2 separate regions of the Homo sapiens genome follow, and region 1 is linked to region 2. Evidence: promoter capture Hi-C in 16 types of primary human blood cells and fetal thymus (Javierre and others, 2016). All regions are on one chromosome and are shown on one strand. The core of a region is centred on a gene start or on the middle of the fragment in contact, and the rest is flanking DNA. Distances in the headings are between cores, read along the strand shown.

What was found. Contacts are between HindIII fragments. The CHiCAGO score rates a contact against its expected background, and 5 or more counts as called.
Region 1: a fragment that was not itself captured here is called in contact with the fragment with the promoter of AP4E1 in region 2 in 1 of 17 cell types (total CD8 T cells); the score reaches 5.8 in total CD8 T cells.

The regions. Positions count from the first base shown.
Region 1 is chr15:48,869,574-48,876,004 of GRCh38, reverse strand. It overlaps SHC4 (SHC adaptor protein 4), which reads left to right. Exons shown (of 12, transcript NM_203349.4): 5 at 3,863-3,916. Among named protein-coding and RNA genes, the nearest start is that of EID1, 5.3 kb to the left of the region's middle. RefSeq lists a silencer at 1,361-1,682. The HindIII fragment of the contact is 1,269 bases long and covers 4,202-5,470 here.
Region 2 is chr15:50,904,717-50,911,373 of GRCh38, reverse strand. It overlaps AP4E1 (adaptor related protein complex 4 subunit epsilon 1), which reads right to left and starts at 2,691. Exons shown (of 21, transcript NM_007347.5): 1 at 2,446-2,691. The coding sequence starts at 2,595. RefSeq lists enhancers at 1,615-2,356, 2,403-2,572, 2,593-2,882, 2,357-3,098. The HindIII fragment of the contact is 3,809 bases long and covers 2,291-6,099 here.

The sequences.
Region 1 (6,431 bases), core at 3,587-6,086, 2.0 Mb after region 2:
CTCACTTCTGTGTGTAAGAGAAGACGTGTGTGCTCTGCATCCATCTCCTCACAGAGCTGCACAAACAGATGTGAGTTAAGGGCATGTATAATATGGTTGATAATTTTAATCACATACTGCAAAATGTTGTTAAGTTCAGGTGACATTTTCTGACTAGCCATCATTTCTCTATGGATGACATGGTGCATAGACTCACATTCAGAAGCGACCTCTTTGACCTGAGTAGTGAAACCAAAATGCCATCCAGTCATGGCAGCTGCTCCACCCATGCATATACCGATGCAAAATGACTGATTCCACTTTCCTGATATGTAATCATTCAAAGACTTGAATAGTTCTGCATCTGTGGTGCTGGTTGGCAACAAAAGTGCATATAGCATATCCTCATTCACATCCTCCTGCAAAATATATCACACACAAAAAAGCATTGTTCCTTTCTAACAATTGTGCCTCATTATCCTCTGATATTTCATCAGTTCATCTAGTTGTGGTGCTAGCCAAAAGAGGAACACATGCCACCTTTTGAACTGCAGCCTCTCCTGAAAGTTCATGACAAATGTCCTTAGAAGCAGGCAGGATCAACTCTTCATCAATAGTAAAGGACTTCTTAGCTTTAGCAATGTGGTTAGCCACTAAGAATGATGCTCTCAGTGCAAACACATCTGATGAAGTGGTGGCCTTCAATAATTTCTTCTATTCTTTGTGTTCACATTGTTTTCTTTTGAAAAACTCCAAAGGCTTAGTATTAATGCAGGGTGTGTGGTCTCCATGTGACAAAGCAGTTTAGAAGGCTTCATGGCTTTGTTAGATAGCCACTTGCTACATGTTATGCAAAGCAAGCTTGGATAATGTGAATCACCTGTTGTAATGAACTGGTATTTTAAGTAGGACTCTTGATATTTTCTTTTAAATGCAGCTTTATTTTTGTTGGCAGTCTTAAAGTCTTCTGCAGTCTCATCACTGGATCTTTCCCCCTTTTCAAAGAACCTCTCCAGTGAAGTTTGTTTTTTACTCATTTTGGCTAGGGTTAGCTTATGGGCTTACCAAAACTGTGACCGAGAAAGTGCATGGTGCAGGAAAGAGACATGGATGGGAGTGGTAAATAAAATAATGGGCGGGTCAGGAACAAACTAAAATAGTCGGATTCAGACTTAAAGCCTGCCATCAGCTGCAGCTGTACAACTGAAGTACATCAACTCACTTGCCACTATGTAGCCTGCCACCAGATGCAACTTAAGTGTCACTTGCTACTTACCGATAGGGTTTTGATATGAGTCTGCAAGCAATTGATTTATTATGGTCTCTGTGCAGTCAAACCTCTCTGCTATTGTTAATCTGTATTTGCAGCCACTCCCCAGCACTAGCGTCACCACCTCAGCTCTACCTCAGGTCATCAAGCATTAGATTCTCATAAGGAGCATGCAACCTAGATCCCTCGTATGTGTAGTTCACAATAGGGTTCATTCTCCTATGAGAATCTAATGTCGCCACTGATCTGACAGGAGGCAGAACTCAGACAGTAATGTGAGCAACGGGGAGCAGCAGTACATACACATGAAGCTTCTCTTGCTCATCCACTGCTCACCTCCTCTGCAGCCCGGTTCCTAACAGGCCACGGACTGGTACTTGGTCTCTGGCCAGGGGAGTCGGGAGCCCCTGCTCTAGTTCTTCTCACCATGGACACATGATTTCTGGCTGACTGCTGCTTGGTGTCAGATTTATCATAGACTAAAAGTTCTTAAATACATGAGTCTATTTTTAGACTTTGAATTCTTGTGACATTTTTACAGTTTTATATCTTGCTGTTTGATCAGGAATATTTTGTCTTTGTTCTTTAAAAAACTGCGCTAACTCTTCTTGTGCATTTATTCTTTCATATGAATTTAGGAGCATCTTGAATGTGATATTATAATATTTCTTATTATCTTATAAGGGAATTCTTATGCATTTGTTCTTTTAAAATTTGCTTTAGCTGTTCTTGCACATTTATTCTTCCATATGAATTTTAGAAGCATTTTTATTGGAATTGCATGGAATTTATAAATTAATCTGGGGTAGGATTGACACCTTTGTAATACCATCTTCTCATCCATGAGAGTGATATATATCTTTCTACTTGTTCAGATCTTATTTATACTCTTCAGTGAAGTTTTCCAAAAAGCATTACATGATTCTTATTAGTTTTGTACTAAAGTACTCTTACAAAGTGTACCTTTCTCCCCAAAATACAGTGTCTAATTGGCTATTTTTCTGTTTTTTTTTTTGAGACGGAGTCTCGCTCTGTAGCCCAGGCTGGAGTGCAGTGGCATGATCTCAGCTCACTGCAAGCTCCGCCTCCCGGGTTCACACCATTCTCCTGCCTCAGACTCCTGAGTAGCGGGGACTACAGGTGCCCACCACGCCCAGCTAATTTTTTGTATTTTTAGTAGAGATGGGGTTTCACTGTGTTAGCTAGGATGGTCTCAATCTCCTGACCTCATGATCCGCCCGCCACGGCCTCCCAAAGGGTTGGGATTACAGGCGTGAGCCACTGCGCCCGGCCGACTATTGTTGATATATGGGAATGACATTGATCTTTGTATATTGACTTTGTTTTTACTGAAATATAAATGTAGACAAGTACACAGATAATAAGTCCGTAATAATTATCACAAAATGAACAGTTGTATAACCAATATTCAGATCAAGAAACTCCAGCAATCCCAGAAAATCTTTTGCCCCTTCTTCCTGTGCTCCAGAAATAACCACTGTTCTGATTTCAAATACCATAATTTTGCCTAGTTTTGAACTTCATATAAATTAAGCCATGCAGTATATTCTTTGTGTTAGACTTCTTTTGCTCAGCAAACATGTTGCTGCTATATAGTATGCCACCATTGAATATTACAATAGTCATCATTGGAATTGTTTCCAATTTAGGGCTGTTATGAACAGGGCAGTTATTGTCTTCTTTGAGAATATTTTTTGTTGCACATATTTACACAATTGTGTTGGATATACGTCTAGGAATAAAATTGCTGGTCATCTTATATAATCAGCTTTGGTAGATTCTGTCACACAATTTTGAAAGCAGGATTAGTCAATAGGTGCATAGTTGGTGTTTTAATGAACCTTCAAAATAGCATGACAGATATGTCTCTGCAAATGGTCATTACACTGTGGTTTGCAAACAAGCAATCCTAGACTCTCAAATAGAAGACAATCTTCTTAGCTAATTAATGTGGTTACTTGGCGATTCTTACTCATATTAGAAGTCCTAATGTTAGTGCCTTACTCAGGATACATTTAGTAGTGAATGACTGAAATCAAATTCAAACTAACTTTTGCAAAAAGAAACAAAAATATAAAGGGAGAGGGTGAAATATATTGGTTAAAGTGATGGAACAAATGTTACCACCAGACTTTTTTCCTATTTTTAGTTCTCAGTTCCGATTTTCATCAGAAGAAAAGCTTCATATTCCAGCAGACTTTTCTCACATGGCAGCATAATATGGCCCCTAGAAGCTTTGGGCTTACATAGTTTTTAATGGCAGAGAGAGATGCTTTCTCTCCTATTATTCATTTCAGTTCTTCCCAAAATACATTGATTGGCTCTGCTGTATCCAGAGAGATGGTATTTTCTGATTGGCTAGCCCTAGATAATGTTCCACCTGGGTGGGCAAGGGCAGTGAGATGGGCATCACAAAATCATCAGAATCTCGTGGTTTAAATGAGATTATTATAGAGTGTAGGTTGGGTGGTTTTCAAAGGGATGCTGATCAGGCAAAAACAAAACAAACAAATGTATGTCTATTACTGTTAGACTGTATATAACTAGAAATAACAATTAATTTATATTAGTATACATGTTTATGTTTTTCAGATTATTGCAAATCATCATATGCAGTCTATTTCATTTGCCTCTGGAGGGGATCCTGTAAGTATGGATTCACAGAAGTTCTTTTTATGAGTTAAAATAACTTCTTGACATTTGGGGCTGGATGATAATAAAATAAAATAACTTTTACATAAACCATATTAGCCACTACATGTCTTTTCCTAACATACTATTACAGTCTGTGAATAGCTACATGTAGCAGATAATAAAATATTTTCTTTAGGCAAACATTTCCTATTATTAAATTTTAAAATACTTGGATTAGTAGATGAGCTAGTAGTGCTCCATTGTGTTATTAGCCATGGAGTTATCATCTAATAAGCTTCTTGTTGATAATATCTAGGTCATGAAAAGCAAGTATGTCATACATGTGTTGCTCAATCCTTCCTTAGAATTCTTCTCAACACAGAGTTTCTGGAACACTTTACTAATCAACTGGACTTGATATATCAACCAAGTCAACTAAGTCTAATCTGGAATGAGCAACCAGGTTTGCAGGAACTCATGGAGGAAATGCTGAGCTGGGGAGAGAGAACTTGTAGTTCTTCTCTACCAAGATGGGGTCATGTGATACTCACTTCCCAGAAATTGTACAGGATTTCTCCAAGCCTACTCTGCAGAATGGAGTGTCATTCCTTGACTCCCTACTGCACCATTTCTGGACCACAGCAAAAGGAGAGGGGCTTTGAAGCTAGGGAGCCTGCAACTGAGCAAGAAGCAAATCTGTTTAAACTGAGGGAGTAGAAGAATACTTTTGCCACTCTGTGACATTATTGGTCTTTTTATTGTACTCTTTCCTCTTCTAATCTTCCATATGTTTTGATGAAAGGTTAGAAGAGGATGGAGTATGACTTTCATAATGGTTAAACATCAGCCATGTCAAGAAAGCAGGGGGAACATACACAGACCTTGTTCTTACTCAGAATGTATTACCTTCTTTTCTGCAAAGCATTTTTTAAAGAAAAGATTATATCCTTCAGGAACGAACCAATACAATTCAGTTTAACCATTGATTGTTTTCTATCCACCACATTTAGTTTTCACCTGTAATTGAGGAATAAAATGTAGAGTCATAAATGATAGGACAATAACCTAGAAACCCAAGAAAGATATAGAGGATGCTAAAAACTAAATCTGGCAGCTGATACCATGGTAGTTTTCATTTGTTTTAAACTTTTTGCTAAATATTCAATGGGGGAGAAATAATTGTATATCCTAAAAGGAAGTAAAGTTCTGAAGTTACTCTGTAATCATTGCTTCATTTACTGGCATCTAAAGCATTTAAGCAGGTTCTTCCTCTTGGGTGTTGGTGTAACTTACCTGTGTATAAAATATATAGCTAAATTAGCCAATTCTTAAAAACACTTCAATAATTACTTGTCTTCACATTGGCTACCAATGACCTAAAGTATTTAAGCATGTCAAACCAAGACATGCTTTTTTTTTTTTTGAGACGGCGTCTCACTCTTGTCACTCAGGCTGGAGTGCAGTGGCACGATCTTGGCTCACGAAGCATATGGAAGAAAAGCAGCCTTTACAGGATTTCAAACCCTTGTTTTCTAATTAATGGATATCCAGTTTCCCCTTTAAGCTTTACTACTTCCTCATCTTTTAGCCTGGGGTATAGTTATTTTCAAATAACTATTATATATTAGTTCCATGATGCTGCCATTTTTAAAAGTAAACCAAATGTTAAGAGTTCCACCTTTTCCCCAAGAAATTCCACAGATGCCTAATTGTGAATTCCCATTAGCAAACAAGGGACATACAAGGTGTCTGGTGCTTAGCAGCTGCTATTTGAGCCCAAGAGCCTATCTGGACTCTTTTCCATCCAGCCTTGTAATCTGGCCTCAATAGCAACACCAAGGATGGTGGCTGGCAGGGAGGGTCAACTGAATCCAGGCTGAAAAATACCAGCACTTTCTCTTCTCCCTAGCTCAGTCATCCATGAAGGAACTCAAATACTTTTCTTAAGAGATTTAAAGTAGTGTTTATACATGTAGTGTGAAAAATAATTATTGGCATTTGCCCTAAATTTCTTAAGGGTTGTCATCATGTTAGAATTGGTGCGCAAACATTTACTCAAGGCATGCCCTGAATGATTTCTGTTATTGTTCTCCAGAATCTTAATTTTTTTCATACTCTCTTCATGTGCCTTTAGTTCTTTAAATTGACCAAACCACTGTTCCTATAAAAAACAAACATTAAATAATTTGTGGCCACTATGGGAAAGTTTGTACCTGCTGCATTGAGAGCACCTCTGTGCTCTCTAAAGCTGGTGAGAAAGCCTGTTGATTCTAATTTAAAGTAGAAATCTGGCGGCGGTGCCATGGCTTGGTTGGTTAAAGCACCTGTCTAGTAAAATAGAAGTCTGGAGCCACCCTAAGCATTGGCATTAGAAATCATCTCTATGAAGTTTTACCATCAGGTCAGGGAGGCAGTATTATGTACTGCCAGGCTTTGGAGTCAAGTAGACGTGACTTATTTAAACTCCCTAAACTCCAGAGTCCTCATATGTAAATGGAGGATAATCCCTATTGCCTGACAGTGTTGT
Region 2 (6,657 bases), core at 1,442-3,941:
AGGGTAAGAAAGCAGAAACAGAAATAGGTCTTTTTCCCTTAAACTACATTCTTCTTCCCTGTCTTTTCCTCATTCCCCAAATCCTTTCCATAACTTCCTATCTCAGACACATACCAATGTGGTCACTCCTACTGTCTGCATTGTATGTTATCTCCCTAAGCACTTAAAAAATTGGCCCCATTTTTTTTTGGCTAATATCATGCTACCTTTAAATTACACACTGAATTACATGTTCATCAGATGGCTATTCAAAAGCCACTAGTGACGTACTGATACACGTGGATGCCTATCTACAGTTTCAAACTGCTATTTAAGACCAAAAATAACTTTTTAAAAAATTTTATTGAGGATCCCTTAAAAATTAGCAAAGGACAAAAACCTTAAGAAAAACAACATTATTAAGGCCACAAATGGCCAGGCGTGGTGGCTCACGCCTGTAATCCCAGCACTTTGGGAGGCCAAGGCCAAGGCAGGTGGATTACCTGAGGTCAGGAGTTCAAGACCAGCCTGGCCAACATGGCGAAACCCTGTCTCTACTAAAAATATAAAAATTAGCCGGGTATGGTGACGTGTGCCTGTAATCCCAGCTACCAGGGAGGCTGAGGCAGAAGAATCACTTGAACCCAGGAAGCAGAAGTTGCAGTGAGCCAAGATTGCACCACTGCATTCCAGCCTGGGCGACAGAGTGAGACTCCATCTCAAAAACAAAACAAAACAAGACAAGCCCACAAGTAATGATTCTGGAATGTGAAGCAGGTTCTCTCCGGATAGCATCAACTTATTAGAGCTGCCAAAAAAATATTTTTTTTAAACCTTCAGAGCACTTTCTTTTCTGTCTTTCCTTCTCTTTTAGCACTTCTATTGCATTGTAGTCATGCTTATACTTGTCTTAAGCCCAAAACGAATGACTAATTCCTTGGGAAAAGGGAATGTGTTTAATTCTATTTTCCTGTGTCTAACACATAACCTTGTTCCATAAACATCTGTTGAACAAATAATGACATTAACACGTGCTCTTTTTAAGATATAAACTCCTTGTAGCTGTGAATCGGTATACTACACAATCCGTGCAACCATCGAGCGCCTGTGGGGGCCCGGCGCGGTGGCTCATGCCTGTAATCCCAGCACTTTGGGAGGCCGAAGTGAGCGAACACTTGAGGTCAGTTCAAGACCAGCCTGCCCAACATGGTGAAATCCTGTCTCTACTAAAAATACAAAAATTAGCCGGGCGTAGTGGCATACGCCTATAATCCCAGCTACTTGGGAGGCTGAGGCAGGAGAATCGCTTGAACCCGGGAGGCAGACGCTCCAGTGAGCCAAGATCGCACCATCGCACTCCAGCCTGGGCGACAGAGCGAGACTCCGTCATTAAAAATTTAAAAATTTTAAGGCCGGGCAGGGTAGCTCACGCACGTAATCCCAACACTTTGGGACGCCAAGGCGGGCGGATCGCGAGGTCAGGAGATCGAGACCATCCTCGCTAACACGGTGAAACCCCGTCTCTACGAAAAGTACAAAAAATTAGCCAGGCAGTGGCGGGCACTTGTAGTCCCAGCTACTCGGGAAGCTGAGGCAGGAGAATGGCGTGAACCCGGAAGGCGGAGCTTGTAGTGAGCCCAGATCGCGCCACTGCACTCCAGCCTGCGCGACAGAGCGAGACTCCGTCTCAAAAAAAAACAAAAATTAAAATTTTTAAAACCTTAAGGCTCCAGCGAGCCGAGATCGAGATCGCACCATTGCACTCCAGCCTGGGCGACAGAGAGAGACTCCGTCAATAAAAATTTAAAAATTTTAAAAGTTTAAGAATTTTTATAACTGCTCATTTTCAAAGCCCACTTGAGGCAGAGACTTAGCAAATTTTACATTTTGAGAGAACTGTGCTTTTTCTTTGCCCAACACGTTGTTGTAACCCAAGAACCTCAAGCTCCCCAAAGATATTCAACAAGAGGCTCACAGGATCTCTTCAGGTATGCGACATCTGAACTGTTGTTCAGTTGAAGGCACCGGGGGAGAGAAGGAAACTGAGTAGGGAAAAAAAACTTTGTGGAAGGTAAATAATGTCTGACACTTCCATCGCACTAGGTATTTTCACACGCTTGACATCTCACCCAATCCTCAAAACAAACAAAAAACCTATGAATTATGTATCAGTACTTTTCCACCACAACGTTGAGAAAACACACGGAGGCTCAGAGGTTACAGAGATGTGCCCCCGATCAAAGAGTCAGTGTCAGAACTAACTGTGGAAACTCGGCTTCCCTGCTGTCAGTCCCAGCAGGAAAGTGAAGCTTCCAGGCAGACGAAAGGACGAACCGACACAGCAGCCCCTGAGCCCCGCCGGAGGGCTAACCCCAGAGGCCCTGAAGTCTCGCCGCCCGGCCAGGGCCTCCTGGCGCGGGGGCCTCACTCCGATGTCCCTGAGCTCCCGGGCCGGCGGGCACCTACGTGCTTGGAGGTGAGGGCTGTGATGCCGCGGACAAGGCTGCCCAGCCTCGAGGAGAAGGACGCCTTGGCGGCCGCGGGCCCACCACCGGGCTGGTTCTGCAGAAAGAGTCCCGGCAGCGCCGTCAGCGTCTTCTCCACTATGTCGCTCATCGCCGCCGCCGCCCGCGATGCCGCCGCCGCCCGCGATCCCGTAGCCGCCCGGCTTCATGCCCGGCCGCCGCTGCCGGCCCGGCCTCCGTAGGCACTTCCTGTTTTTTGAATAAGAAATCTTTATTGGCGTCCCACCTGAACAAGTTCAGCGTCGTTCTCGCGAGAGGCCACCAGAGGGCGCAAGAGACCGCGGGGGTGGAAAAGGCCGCTCGCTCGAGATTGCGCGCGTAAGTAGACCTCCTTTCTCGCGACGGGGTAGCGGTTCCGGAATCCCCCAGAACCGTGAGTCCTCCTGAGGAAGCCGTCGGGGGCCTGGCCCTGTTAGGCACTGTCTCCCAGAGTCCCCCTTTCCCACTAGCCGCCTCCGCGTAGCCCGAGACCGCGTCAGGAGTTGCGTCTTCCTGGCTGCGCCTTTTTCGGGACGTCCCCGCGCCGTCCGCCGCCTCTCACTGTCCCCGGAGCGCGCGCCACCCGCCCGCTTCCCACAGGCGGTTTCACGCGGGTCCCCGGCGCCGCGCGCGGCTCCGGCCCTGGCGACTCTTGGGACACCCGAGTAGTTGCGTGATAGCGGGGCTGTCCTGAGGATTCGGCGTGCCAGGTTGAGAGCCCGTCGCGTGCCGGGGACTCGCGGCCACTGTCGCTTCCCGTCCGCCCCTCTTCTCCTGGGATTTGGGGAGGTGGGCGGGAAAGAGAACTGGTCGGCGGCCACCCTTGCCGACTCCTCCTCAGCAGGTCGCAGTTGAAAGGTCATCCTTCTAGAGCCCACTCCCCTGGCCCGGCGGGCAAGGATAGGTCTCCAAGTCCCACCCTCTCACAGCGCTCGGTTCTGTTCCACTTTAGAACAGGTCGCAGTTGCCACTACGTAAACAGCTCCCCATAGAGAGAGTATTTTATTCATTCCGATTGCTCCGTCTTTTATCTAGAACAGAGTCTGGTACAATGGCTCTCGAAATGTGGTCTGGTGACCTCAGGGTCGCTGAGACCCTTCTAGGGAATTCACAAAGTCAAAACAACATTGATAACGTTTCTTACGTGTTATTTGCCGTTTTTACCCTCATTCTGTTGGAAATGTACAGAGTTTTCAAGCGGCTAGATGACGATTGACTAGCTGGTAAAATGTATCCTGGAGTATCCTTGTGTTTTCTAGAATTTTCTAAGGTAGTAGGTTTAGGGCATAAATACGTGCGTTTTCAGAGATTAATGCAATTTGCTCTCAGTACTCCTAGTGTGTTTCTAGGAGGTAGGTTAGGTAGGTGGTGATAGCCTCCCTTCAAGGGGAACAAACTTGCTAAATAAATAGAACAAACCAGCCCATAGTGTACAAACCACATCCGAGGCTCCTGGTTAGAAAATTTTGCAGCAAAGAGGTACGAGAGCAGAAGGGAAAATCCCCAAACTCTCACAAGCGCAGAAACCCATGATCAGTGTCGTTGGGCTGAATTATACTCATTATAATAGTAAAAAAAAAAAAAAAAAAAAAACACCACTCCTGGGTGAAGATTTAAGATACTAATAAGACATGCAGTGTATGTACTAGCATATACAACCACAGCGCACATGGCGACAGAAAACCAGAGAACGTGCTTAATAGCAGCACCCGTTCTCCCCGCTTCATGAATGATCCTGTGAGACTCCTACAAAGGGAGTTTCCCCAGTGTCAGTGCATGCTGTCTCACCTTTGAGCAGCCCGCTCTGATCAGCTGTGAGGGTGTACTTTCGCTTTGCAATAAACTCTTTTGCTTGCTTTTACTTTGGACTTCAAAATTATTTTGCACCGCGAAGTCCAGAACCTCAACCGGCCCACCAGCTACAGCTACACTTACAAGCTATCTTCGGTTATACCTGCTCTAATCTCTGTAACCTCCTTGTCACCTAATAAATGAGTTTTTTTGAAATCCTGAAGTTGTTTTAATACCTATATGGGAACATAAGAAAAAAGTTCAATTTGTTGGCTTGTCTCGCAAGAATATTTTTTAATATATTGAGAACATTTTAAAATATTTAAACTTTATCTAAAAGGGATACTCATTTATTCATTTAATTTTTTTTTTTTCAGAGTCTCGCTCTATCACCCAGACTGGAATGCAGTGGCACAATCTGGGTTCACTGCAGCCTCCTCCCCCTGGGTTCAAGCAATTCTCCTGCCTCAGCCTCCCGAGTAGCTGGGATTACAGGCGCCCGCCACCATGCCCGGCTAATTTTTGTATTTTTAGTAAACACAGAGTTTCACCATTTTGGCCAGGCTGGTCTCGAACTCCTGACCTCAGGTGATCCGCCCACCTCAGCCTCCCAAAGTGCTGGGATTACAAGCGCGAGCCACTGCGCCCAGCCAGAAAGGGATACTCTTTTAGAATTTAATTTTGTTATTTTATTATTATTTTTTGAGATGGTGTCTCGCTCTGTTGCCCAGGATGGAGTGCAGTGGTGTGATCTCGGCCCACTGCAACCTCCGCCTCCCAGGTTCAAGCAGTTCTCCTGCCTCAGCCTCCCGAGTAGCTGGGATTACAGGTGCGTGCCACCACACCCGGCTAATTTTTTGTATTTTTAGTAGAGATGTGGTTTCACCACGTTGGCCAGGATGGCCTCGGTCTCCTGACCTCATGATCTGCCCGCCTCAGCCACTCAAAGTGCTGGGATTACAGGTGTGAGCCACCACGCCCTGCCTAGAATTTAATATTTTGTCGTCCGGGCGCGGTGGTTTATGCCTATATTCTAGCACTTTGGGAGGCCAAGGCGGGCAGATTGTCTGAGCTCAGGAGTTCCAGACCAACCTGGCCAACATGGTGAAACCCCGTCTCTACTAAAAATACAAAATATTCGGACAGGCACGGTGGCTCCCACCTGTAATCACAGCACTTTGGGAGGCCAAGGTGCACAGACCACAAGGTCAGGATATCAAGACCAGCCTGGCCAACCTATGACTCTACTAAAAAAATACAGAAATTAGCCGGGCATGGTGGCGTGCGCCCGTAATCCCAGCTACTCGGGAGGCTGAGGCAGGAGAATTGCTGGGACCCGGGAGGCGGAGGTTGCAGTGAGCCGAGATTTCACCACTGCACTCCAGCGTGGGCGACAGAGCAAGACTCCACCTCAAAAAAAAAAAAATACAAAAAATTTAGCCGGGCATGGTGGCACACCTGTAGTCCCAACTACTTGGGAAGCTGAGGCAGGAGAATTGCTTGAACCTAGGAGGCGAAGGTTGCAGTGAGCCAAGATCGCACCACTGTACTCCAGCCTGGGTGACAGAGCAAGACTCTGTCTCCAAAAAAAAAAGGAATTTAATATTTTATCTTTAAATTAAATTTTGTTTTATGTATAGTTTTTTAATTTTAGGTTCTTCCATTGGCTTAAAAAGGGGATACTAGAAGATTCGCTTTCTAACCTTCCCGTCTGTAAAGATGCCGAAAAAGATGAAGCTGACATCAGTATCAGAATTCACTGACTCAGGGAAAGGGAGAAATCTGGTCGAAACTATAAATAACAAAGGAAAGTATGACAAAAGCTTCTTTCTTTCCCTTGGCATTAGAGATGTTAATCACTTGCCTTATTTTATGTCATTCAACAGAACATTTTCAAATACTATTATGGTGCCAATCAAGTTGAGGCATCATTTTCAGACCAGTCAGAATTTAAAAGAAAGGGAATTTAATACTTTCAACATAGAGATGATATGCTTTATAAAAGCCAAAGCTTTTGTATTACCATTTTCAAAGTAAAAATGAAAAACCTACTGAAGCATCTTACACATGAAATTATTATATTTCATTGATAGGAGAAGGACATGCAATAGCTAAAAGACTAATGAATGCCTGCTAGCTGATAATCAGTAAAAGAACTCATGGGAGTGCTACTTTCCAAAGATGCAATAACTCACCAAATTAGACATTTAGTTGCAGGCCAGGCGAGGTGGCTCATGCCTGTAATCCCTGAATTTTGGGAGGCCAAGGCAGGCGGATAACTTGAGATCAGGAGTTTGAGACCAACCTGGCCAATATGGTGAAACCCTGTCTCTACTAAAAATACAAAAAAAAAAAATTAGCTGGGCATGGTGGTACATGCCTG